Linked DNA regions of Homo sapiens: region 1 is linked to region 2. Evidence: promoter capture Hi-C in human tissues and cell types (Jung and others, 2019). All regions are on one chromosome and are shown on one strand. The core of a region is centred on a gene start or on the middle of the fragment in contact, and the rest is flanking DNA. Distances in the headings are between cores, read along the strand shown.

Evidence for each region. The method cuts DNA at HindIII sites, captures the fragments that hold promoters and counts their contacts. A contact is called where the count stands out against the background at its distance.
Region 1: a fragment that was not itself captured here is called in contact with the fragment with the promoter of TDRD3 in region 2 in 1 of the 25 tissues and cell types used here (dorsolateral prefrontal cortex).

Annotation. Positions count from the first base shown.
Region 1 is chr13:61,417,291-61,423,156 of GRCh38, reverse strand. No RefSeq gene overlaps it. Among named protein-coding and RNA genes, the nearest start is that of PCDH20, 4.4 kb to the right of the region's middle. The HindIII fragment of the contact is 4,402 bases long and covers 1,826-5,866 here.
Region 2 is chr13:60,393,370-60,398,932 of GRCh38, reverse strand. TDRD3 (tudor domain containing 3) reads right to left here and starts at 1,713. Exons shown (of 14, transcript NM_001146070.2): 1 at 1,528-1,713. The coding sequence starts at 1,568. RefSeq lists enhancers at 862-911, 1,792-1,991, 1,841-2,353, 2,062-2,391, 2,722-2,791 and a silencer at 1,082-1,651. The HindIII fragment of the contact is 4,558 bases long and covers 948-5,505 here.

The sequences.
Region 1 (5,866 bases), core at 2,777-5,276, 1.0 Mb before region 2:
TGAGGTTTTCTTAAATATTGTATGGCTGTGTGGAGATGGCATCTTGAATCACCCTGGATCCAGAAATCCTACAGAAATGCTTAAATAGTCACAGTCACAGCTAGTAAGGATACCTGAGGTCTCTCAGCTTTATGACTGGTGTACATTATGTGTAAAACACCTTTTATAATCATTCTTGAATAGTTTAACAAGCTCTGGCAGGACTCTAATAGATTTGGATTTTTTTGGAGAAGTATTGAAATACAAAGTGGCAGTAATTGTGTTTTTTTTTTTTTAAGAAAGCACACCATGTACATCCACATTTAGAATAAGAATAGTTGCTCCTATATAGAATATATGCCATCCTGGCCAGACGTGGTGGCTCATGCCTGAAATCCTGCCACTTTGGGAGGCCGAGGCAGGAGAATCATTTGAGGTTAGACGTTCAAGAGAATATATGCCATGCTTATGGCACATTTTAAAAAGTTTTAATTCTTTTTATTTAAAGAAAAATACCATAAAAAATATTGTTTCCCATGGAAATCTCCAAATCTCTTTTTCCCTTCTAGCTTTTTTTGACCTTTGTCTACATGACTGTTAAATTGCACAAAATCTAAATTCTTATCTACATTTGTCTGACATTTTGAATTCTAAAAGAACATATGAATATTTAAAATAAGCTTTAATAAAATTTTTCATTAAAAACCAATTATTATTCATATTTCATTTAAATCTAGTTAATGCAGAATATATTTATTCATAAAGAGAAGGAATCCACAAAAAAACTGTTATTATATTCTAAATAAAGTTGATATCAACTGGACCAAATTTTAATATTATCTACAATTAAGAAATGGTGGGCCTTTAGGATATTTACAATTTCATTATCAAGAAGCACATTCTTTTCGCCAAGTAAATGTTTTATTGCCATATAATTCTAAATTGTTTATAAAAATTCTGTTACAAAACCCACATTCTTTTCTTGATAATTCAAATAATTTAGAAAAAACAGAGCACTCATTGTTTCAGAAGTATAGCTTATGTACATTTTTATGGAAGTTTATAATTGTTTAATTTTTTCCAGATGTTTGGTATTTTTGAAATGGTTATCTTACTATCAGATTATATGCATTATTTATAATGTGTACATATTCCTTATTCAACATATGTGCTTGCTTCAGTTAATATTAGAATATCGCCCATATTTGTTTTTAAAAGGCTCACCAACATTATAATAAACTAACTCAAATTTTCCTTGTTCCTCCTAACTTAGCCACTTCCAAAGCTGTGTGACCACAAGAACCTACTTAACCTCTAAAAGCCTTCTATTCCTCATCTGTAAAATGGGGTCATCATTAACTTGCAGAGACTTTGTGAATATTCAATGTAATGTCCACCACGCACTTGGTGAAAGTTAGGTGCTGAATATTGCTGGCTGTTAGCAGTAAATGAAATTGAGATCAGCAAACTCTACCTCCTTCTAAAGAGATATCAAGAAAGAAGTAGCTAGTGATCATAGCGTTTCATATTTTCGCCATGAAAATATTGACTACGTACATCATTGACAAAGTCTTTTACTGACCCTATGATACTCACTCAATGCCTTTATATATGCCACACATGCTGAGATTAGAACAGTCATGCAGTTTTTAACAATCGCACTTTAGGCTCACAGAGTCAGATAAAAAGAGATTTTATCAAGCCAGTCAAAAGATCTGTTGATCGGTATAAAAACATTACTTGAGCATAAATTTTCATTAAACTTTCCCATATGTAACACTTAAATTTGTGAGAATCAAAAATAGGTATCTGAAGAAATAGACGATCGGTCTCCTAAAACATAATTTAAAATTCTTTCTCTCCTTCAATAGATTTGTTTTGGCCCTGACCTAATTTCTATGCTAATTCAGAGGGTTTACGATTGCTTTATTCTTTGCACAGCCTGTATTTTTTCCTTCTTTCAAATCTCCCAGGGATGGACTCCAGGAAGTAAGGCATATGCATCATCAATAAACCACATTTAGTTAACTGTTCTTTATTCGGCAACTCCTGATCCACTTCGTGGAATTTTCTATGCCCTTCATTTCTTTCCCTCCTCAATCCCACCACCTTTCTTTTGATGATTTCGCTGCTCATTATCACCTCTACCAGAGGTGAGAAGGAAGAATGTGAAATTAAAATGAGTTGAAAATGACTTTTAAAATTTATTTTCAGGATAAGGAGGAAAAGTTGAAAATGTTAGCTAAAATTAGGCCTGGGGTTTTCTAATGACTTCACACAGTTATTTTTATCCCTGTTAAAGTGATGCTAATTGAGTTCTGAAATGAAAGGACCCTTCCATCCTATCTTATTCTTTCCTATTGGAATATATAGGGAAAGAGGAGAAATGTACAATCTATTTACACAAAGTTTTCTAAAACATAAAAAAGAGTCATCAGGACGGAATAATGCTTACAAAGGTCCCATGTATAAGTTGCACAGTACAGCAGTAAATGTTTTAGAATACAAGTTTTATAGTAAATTAGCTCATTTGGACCTTCTTCTTGCAAGTGTGTAAATGTATGTTTATTTACTGAATTAACTGTCCAGCTTTTTTAGCAAAAGGCCTCACTGCTGATTCCCTGTTAGTCTCACTATTAATTTCTGAATCGTGTAGGGAAATGAAGTAGGATTTTTTCAGTTTGTGTGATATACTTAAAAAATAATTAGTACTTCAGTAGTTACTTAAAAATATTTGTAAATATTTGTAAATTTGAACAATGAATAAAATAAAATAAAGTTTAGAGTAACTCTTAAAATCAAGGCTTTTGATCTTAACCGTAGATGGTTTAAAAAATATACTGTTTTTACAGGTTATCCTCTAATATCAGAGCAATTGTGAGGTTAAAATCTAGTACTATTATAAGAAATGGGAGTATTTTCATAATTTGAGTCAGCTATAAGTCATCTTTCTTACTGTCACCTAGCATGTAAAATGAGGGCTAACTAGGTGATCCCTAAAATTATCCAAAGCTTTTCAGTACTTTCAAGTATACACACAGCTATACACACATTATATATTTTACATGTATACATTGGGAGATTTAAGTTAGCCACACAGCTTAGACAAGTTATATCCATGTGTATGTATCTATTTACGAAGTAGTAATGGACTAAAGAATCCTTTCCTTCGAAAAGGCATCATATAACACATCTATGCCTCCAATTTTTTTTATTTTAAATGAGTGATAAATGTTTGTTGAATAGAAATACATTTAAATGTGTGTGGGCCCTTTATTTTCCCATTCTGATGAGAAAGGCATACCAGAGTAGAAAGATCACATATTTTGAAGGTCACAGATCAGGCTCTGGACTAGCATGTTATGTATGGCTATAAAGCTGGTATAATAATAACTATATTATAAAACTGCTGTGAGGATTAACTAAATTACATATGTCAACCACCTAGTAGCATGTTTGAAACATAATTGACACTAGGTAACCAATCTATCATTTCTCAGGTATTTTATTGGTTTTTCAAATGTAATCATCCTTTTAACCTTGATGATTGAATCAAAAAAGAATACAGATATAATATTTCATTGTATATATATTTATTATATGTTATATTTATATGTGGTATATTTTACACTTTTACATATGTACCTATATATTAATAATATATTTTGTGTACACATGTACATATATTTTAATTCATCAAAAGGGACTTCTAATTTTAAAAATTCTATTAAGACAAAGAGAAATGGCCTTAAAATAAGGTAATATTCTAAACTTATATTTATTTGCAATTATGAATTAACCAGAACATGTACACGGTTATGGTTCAAGATAGTTTTAAATATCTGTGTATATAGTGATTACATGAAACTTTGTGTATACCACAATATTATTAAACTAATCTAAATAGTGGAAATAGATTTAATTGAGAAATACAAATAAAACTACCTGTAAAGCATAGTGCTTCAAAAATTTTTTTTAAAGATTTAAAACGTAAAAAGTTTACAGATGGTATCTTTTTTCCTCATCTTTTTTTTTTTTGAGATGGAGTCTCGCTCGCTCAGTAGCCCAGGCTGGAGTGCAGTGGTGCGATCTCGGCTCACTGCAAGCTCTGCCTCCCGGGTTCACACCATTCTCGTGCCTCAGCCTCCAGAGTAGCTGGGACTACAGGCGCACGCTGCCACGCCCCGGCTAGTTTGTTTGTTTGTTTTTTGTATTTTTAGTAGAGATGGGGTTTCACCATGTTGCCCAGGCTGGTCTTGAACTCCTGAGCTCAGACCATCCGCCCACCTCAGCCTCCCAAAGTGCTAGGATTTCAGGCGTGAGCCACCGCGCCCAGGCAAAGATGGTATCTTGATATATACTTATAATCTTGCTCACATCTTTGTAGTGGAGATAATAAAATTACAAAAAGAAGGCTTGCAGTAAATGAAAAATAGTATGTTTTAGTGATAGAATGCAATAAGTAATAATCAAGTTAACCCGTGTATCAGCATGCAGTGTCTGTTAATGCCAGATATGAGGTAAGCAATTTCATGCATATACGTGCATGAAGTGTGTAGGGGTCTTTTTTTATGAAATTGAAACAGAGAAGTTTGATGACTTGTCTAAAGTCACACAGAACTTAGCAACAACCCAGAGAATGTAATCCACTCCTCTGGCTCAGCTCAGTGCACCGTCTATTGTATCCTGCTGTTTTCCTTGTCTATAGGAAAAATAGGCTTGGGAGGCATATAATCTAACTATTCTTCTAGATCGATTTTTACAAAACATGTGGGAAGCAGGCCCAGAGCAATTGAGACGTCTAAGAAGTTCATAAGTATTATTTTCAAGGGACTAATAGCATAGAAGCTTTCTGAGTCATCGTTAGAAATATGTGACACCAGAAGGTAGGTCGCAGGCTGGCATCATAAGGAATAAGAGTTTGGGAATGCTTTCACAAGGCCCAGAGAAGGGATACATGGGAAGAAAGATGTCTATTTAGTCCTTTTTATTTTATTTAAGCCCAATTAGGGTATAAACATTGTGTAAAACCTTTGGATTTTCAGAGAGGAAAGATAATAACAAGTAGTTCAGTGAATGGTTTGAAATGCGACGTGGAAGGTATTGTTCAATATTATGCCAAGATCTCCCAATCTTGATGACAAACTTCCATGCAGGGACTTTGCAATCACCGTAGTCACTTAAAGCAAATGTGGTTGTTAGTGTCGTTCCAAACATTATTTTCAAGATGTGTTCAATACTAGTGTTTCAACTTACATGAAGAACTTTTGCTATAATTCATGTTTATGGTTTTTAGAAACACTCTAGAGAATAATTATGGCCAAATGGGTATATTTAATTTCTTTTCAACTTAATAAAGGGAGGTGTGGTAATAACCCTTTCCACAGAGACCAGCTGGGTGATAGGGTCAGAAGACGAAGATTCTGCTGGTGTAGGCTGGGGGAAACACTTTAAAAAGGAAGTGCATCTGTACTACAAGCAACCACTGCAAAGTAGGGAAAGGGAGAGTAAGGGGCCAGGGAAAAGTAAAAACTTGAGATATAATTACAAAGAGAAAATGTCACTTCACCTGGACTATCATCATAAACAACAGCTCCTGTACAATGTCCTTATAACAAAGGAAAAATGAAGAAAATAGCTCCCTACGTTTCCACCAAAAAGGTGGATGATCTTAACTTGTTGCAGAGGGCATGAGCTGTGAGCGGATAAACAGCCCACTCTGCTGCTCTGTCTCTGGGGGAGAATTGTTGCAGACTGCAGGTTCTCTGACTGCTGACAGATTGCCTAACTCTGGCCGTGGGCCTCCAACTTCGGGAAGCTGTGGGTATTGTATAAAGATGTAAGTTAAACACGTTTCAGAAGCAGCTTGGTACTGATTTGGGGAGTC
Region 2 (5,563 bases), core at 464-2,963:
GAAATGGGGAGAAAGGCAAATGAAAGAGGGATCCAAGATTATTCAGGACACCCTTGTGGGTAAAAAAACTGAAAGAAGAGATTCCTATTGAACAGAAACAAAACTGAAGACAGTGTTTTTAACTCTACAATCTTTTACGCCCATGCTGTTCTGCGAAAAAACTGTAACAACAATAACGCATAAGCGTTAAAGGAACCAGGCCCAGAGCCAGGCCCTCTGTGCTCAACATTCAACTCCACCACTTTCTAGCTATGTCATTTTGGGAAAGTTACTTAACAGCTCTTTGCCTCAGTCTCCTCACCTGTAAAATGGGGTGTATAATAACACAAGTGCCTTTAAAATCAGGAGGGGCTTCTTCAAAGCACAGTTGTGATTATATCCCTCTACTGATCAAAAACTTTATTCACAAAATCAAATCCACATCTTTCACGAACCATATAGATCTTGTGTAGGTTCTGCAAAACAATAAGCGCTTCCCTGTGTCATCTCCAGCAGCTCTGTGCTAGAAAGCCTTTTCCTTACCATCTTTCCAAGTCCACTTTAGGAAAGTAACTCTCCCTCCCATTCCACAGTGCACTCATCTGTTCCTCTGTACGTACGGTTTATCACTATTCCCCCTGGTTTTGTTTGGTCTTTTAATGCCTCACTCTTTCTCCTAAAGCAGTAATTGCAGAGAGCCGTTGCAAATCTTTTTCATCCCCGTTCCTACCCTTCATCCCAGAATGTGCCTGTGCAAGCCTGGGAAAAGCGTTACTGAATTAAACGGGATGATTACAACCGTAATGGCCGCAATTCCAGAAACTGCCTAATTTCGCATAATTTTGTATTGTTTTCAAATCCTGAAAATCTTGACACGAAAGGCCTCTTAAAATCAGAACACCATCCTTTCAAGAAAAGTTCTACCGAGCACCCCCACGAGTTGACATTGCGGTCATTCTTAGCTCCAGAAGTTGTGTGTGTGCCGCGGAAGGCAGATTCACACTGGTCCACACTGTACTTTGAAATAAGGGGTAAGAAGAGGCGGCTCCGGCCGCAGCGCGGGCTGTGCTCTGCTCTGCCCTCAACTTCCTATGGGCCCGCGGGCTCCGGCCGCGTTCGTCCCTCTCCGCCGCACTTCGTTCCCAGCCCTCGCCTCCCGATCCCGCTGCAGAAACACCCCCTCCCCGGAGAAGCCGCGCGGACGGCGCTGCAGGTCCTCCCCGGCGCTCCGGTCGGCCGGGGTCTGGGCCGCCACCCGCCCGGCTCGCGGCCCCCGGCCTCTCCCCAGGCCCGCCGCCCGCCGCCCGGGGCCCAGGCCCGCCGCCCGGGGCCCAGGCCGCCGCCGCCGCCGCCTCCAGGGGACCTAGGGGAACTCGCAGGGCTCCGCGTGGCGCCGGGGGCGGAGCCGGCCCGAAGGGCCCGGGGAGAGGCCGGGGGCGGACGACAGCCTCCGCCTACCCCGACACGCACCCCGCCGCCCCCAACCCAACCTCCCTGGGGCCCCGGCCCGCACCCGCGGCCCGGCAGCCGGCGGGACTCGCCACTTACCAACCCGCCTGGGACAACGCCGCGCCGGCCACCTGGGCCATGGTAGCTGCTTAGGCCGGGGGTGGTGGGGGGCTGGGGTGGGGGTGATGGGGAGGCCTCCTACTTGAGACCCCCCCCCTTAAAAAAAAAAAAAGAAAAGAAAAGAAAAAACTCCTCTGGTCGGCTCTGCAACTGGGCATGCTCAGTGCGGCCGGCGCTTCCGCGTGCGGGTTCCGCTCGCCGCGTTTTCTGAGCGGCCGTAGGGGCCGGCCTGGTGTGGGGCTCCCAGGCTGCGGAGCTCCGGGACCTGATCCACCAAACACCGGCTGGTGGCTGGAGTCAGGACGGTTCAGGGACTTTGCCTCTTCCCCGAAGGCTTTTACTTGTTTTGGGGGGCGCTTTTCTGAGTTGCACACCTTGGAAAGTCGCGAGGAGGTTCTTCGTAGAGCAAAAGTGTGGCGTTTGCAGCGCCCACAGGCGGCCACCTCAGAGAGGGCAGGATAAGGCCTGAGGAGACTGACGGGTTGGCTGCGAGGGAACGCGTCCAGGACCGCGCTAAAAAGGTCACGTTGCGGGCAGCAAAACTCAGAGGTGTCCCCAGCCCATTCTGCACAAAAGTTTACTTTCTTATAAACACTCGTTCCCTTCACCTCGCCTTTTGGTCCGCCCGGACGCAAAGAAAAAATGCAGCTCAAGCTTTTTTGAGTCCCCGCGGGCAGATCGAGTTGCCCCAGTCGGACACCACAGTGAAAATGCCCTGGTCAGCCCAAGAAAACCTGCTTTTAGGGGACATGGGGAAATGGGGCAGTTGTGTCAGTGCTTGTTTTTCCTGTTGCCCTCCCCCTGGGACCATCCGTGTCCTAGCGCGGCCCTGCCACCTTGGCTCTGTACTGCCAGATCTGGCAACCACAGCCGCTTCCCCGCCGATGCCCTTCGCCCGCGCTGTAGAGGGCTGGGGCGCAGGGTGGGTCCCTGAGTGGGCATGCGCGCCGCCGTCGCCCAGCGGCACGGCGGACGCTACCGCGCGATTGGGCGTCCGTGACTCACGCTGGCCAATCAGAGAGGAACAGGCGGAAGGGTACGCGGGCCCAAGAGGCGCTCCCTAAAAGTTTGCTCCACCTTCTTGGTCTTTCACCTCTGCGGCGTCCCGTATTGCGGGGAAAAAGGCTTCTAAGGGGCAGCGTCCCCATCTGCCAGGTCAGGGGAAGAAGACTGTTAGGAACTTAATCCCTATCTCCGCCGCTTGCCGCTGCCCCTGCTTCTAAGGGCATCATCAAAAACAGACTTGGAGCAGAGACTGCGGAACTGGGCAGAGGCGCTCTTGGGATTGGGGAGGAAATTGGCAGTTACGGAAGGAAGGGGATAATTGCCCTGGGTGGAGCTAAAATTCCTTAATACAGATTTTTCTCATTTCAGCTGGGGTATTCCGTTTGGTCTTCCCAAAAGTCATAGTTATAAAATCGCGATGCTTTCGTTAGATGGAATGCTATTGAGATTTGCTCCCAAGTATATTGTTTAGATAATTTTAGATCACAAGTAGCTCCATCCTGTTCGCTGCAATGTGCAGTAGTATGCAGTGTTTAAGTCATACGTATGCTACAGGTATATTTCAATTTATAGTCATCGGCCATCATATACAGGAGCCAGGAATAGATATGCCATTTTAAAGGTAAATAGATGACTCAAAAATAAATTGCCAATAATTTTTATTGGCGGTTAGAATTTTCTGTTACCAATTATTTACATTTTTCAGTTAGTGTAACCTGTTAACTATGAAAATATGTTGTACCAATCATCAGAATTTCTCACTGGTTATAAAGTCATTTGTTCTCACATGTCGTGTGATTCAGTAAGGATTTACCACTGCATGGTCCTTACAATAATAAAGTACTCCACAAAACACTAAATTCTCTTAAAGAATGGGTTTTTTACTGGAGAAATGTGGGACAACATGAGCATCCAAAAAATGGTGACAATAATTGATGAAACACATTGAATTTCTTCGGAGTGCCACCAAAAATGAAGGAGGACAAAATCTTTTCTTTCAGAGCAATACAAGATAGTAAATGTAGAACAAATGATAGAATTAGAAAAATCACAGTTTTCCAAGTCAACCACAATTGATAGAGGAAAATTTATCAGACGATACTAAAAGCCACAGGGTAAAAGACTAGGAGTACAGGATCTTCACATGGTCTCAAAGTTTCAAGCCATAACTTACTTATTACAGAAGGGAAAATGTAGCTTTACCTTTTAAAAAAAAAAATCACTGCCTTAAGAGATCAAAGCTAGAATCACTAATAATGGGACAATCTAATGTATTCTGCTTACTGATGTAATGCAACTAGACATACACATCACTTAAGAAGTATTCTTGCCAAAATGGTTTAACCTGAGTTTAACCAAGCTTGTGGACAGTGGATCCTAAACCAACCCCCACACCCCCAAATCCATTTAGCAATGTCTAGGTTGTCACAATCTGAGGAGGTAGGAGTGTTGTTATGCATCTCATGGGATGCAGCAGGAATGCTGCTAAATATCCTACAAAGCACAGGACATCGCTGAACTCCAAAGAATGATGTGGCCCAGAATGTCAGTAATGCTAAGGTCTAGATGTAAGAAGAAATGTAAAGGACGTATAGGTGATATTTGAGCAAGTTAAACATGAAGACGCAGGCACATAAATCCACAATGAGGCATATTCTCCTCTGGCCTAGACTGTTAAAATGTAATTTAAGACTTTTTTTTTTTTGAGACGGGAGTCTCGCTCTGCCGCCCAGGCTGGAGTGCAGTGGCACGATCTCGGCTCACTGCAACCTCGGCCTCCCGGTTCAAGCGATTCTCCTGCCTCAGCTTCCCGAGTAGCTGGGACTACAGGAGCCTGCTACCGCGCCTGGCTAATTTTTTGTATTTTTAGTAAAGACCGGGTTTCACCGTGTTTGCCAGGATGGTCTGGATCTTGTGACCTCGTGATCCGCACGCCTCGCCTCCCAAAGTGCTGGGATCACAGGCGTGAGCCACCTCGCCCGGCCAGAAATAATTCTTTAGAAAAAAAAAAAGAAGGCTGGGCGCAGGGGCTCACGCCTGTAATCCCAGCACTTTGGGAGGCCAAGGCGGGCGGATCACGAGATCGGGAGATCGAAACCATCCTGGCTAACACGGTGAAACCCCGACTCCACTAAAAATACCAAAAAAAAAAAAAATTAGCCGGGCGCGGTGGCAGGCTCCTGTAGTCCCAGTTACTCCGGAGGCTGAGGCAGGAGAATGGCGGGAACCCCGGAGGCCGAGCTGGCAGTGAGCCGAGATCGCGCCATTGCACTCCAGCCTAGGCGACAGAGCGAGACTCTGTCTCAAAAAAAAAAAAAATATTATTTCAGATTTAAGAGATGCAAGAGACATGAAAACAAAATTCAATCCTGGATCTAAAAAATAAATGAAAAAAATAATTACTGGTGGCCAATTGCAGAAATTTGAATCTGGACTGGATATTGGATAGTATAATGGAATATGGTTTTCTTAAATGTGATAATGTTATTGTCCTTAAATTGAGAATTTTATGTCAAAACATTTATGGATGAAGAAGAATTGGATCTACAAGTTATTTGCAAATGAGTAAGAGAAATACATTTGTAAAATATATAAAACATATAAACATTGATACATGTATATAGGTAAGAAAGAGAAAGGAGGCTGAGGCAGGAGAGTCGCTTGAACCCAGGCGGCGGAAGTTGCAGTGAGCCCAGATCGCGCCACTGCACTCCAGCCTGGCGACAGAGCGGGCCTCCGTCTCAAAAAAAAAAAGGAAAAAAGAGAAAGGAGGTAAATATGGCAAAATATTAAAAATGGGTGAATCAGTTGGAGGAGGGTCCACATGTTTATTTTTTTTCTCTAGGTTTGAAATTTTCCAAAATAAAAAGAAGCGTGGATTACACTAATTTCACATCAAAATTTTAAATTGGAATTATGTTCTGTATAGATAATTTAGTGCCATGAAAAATGGTAATAGCTAACTAGATAAAATGAATTTCCATTTTTAATTAGATAAATCATTGATTTA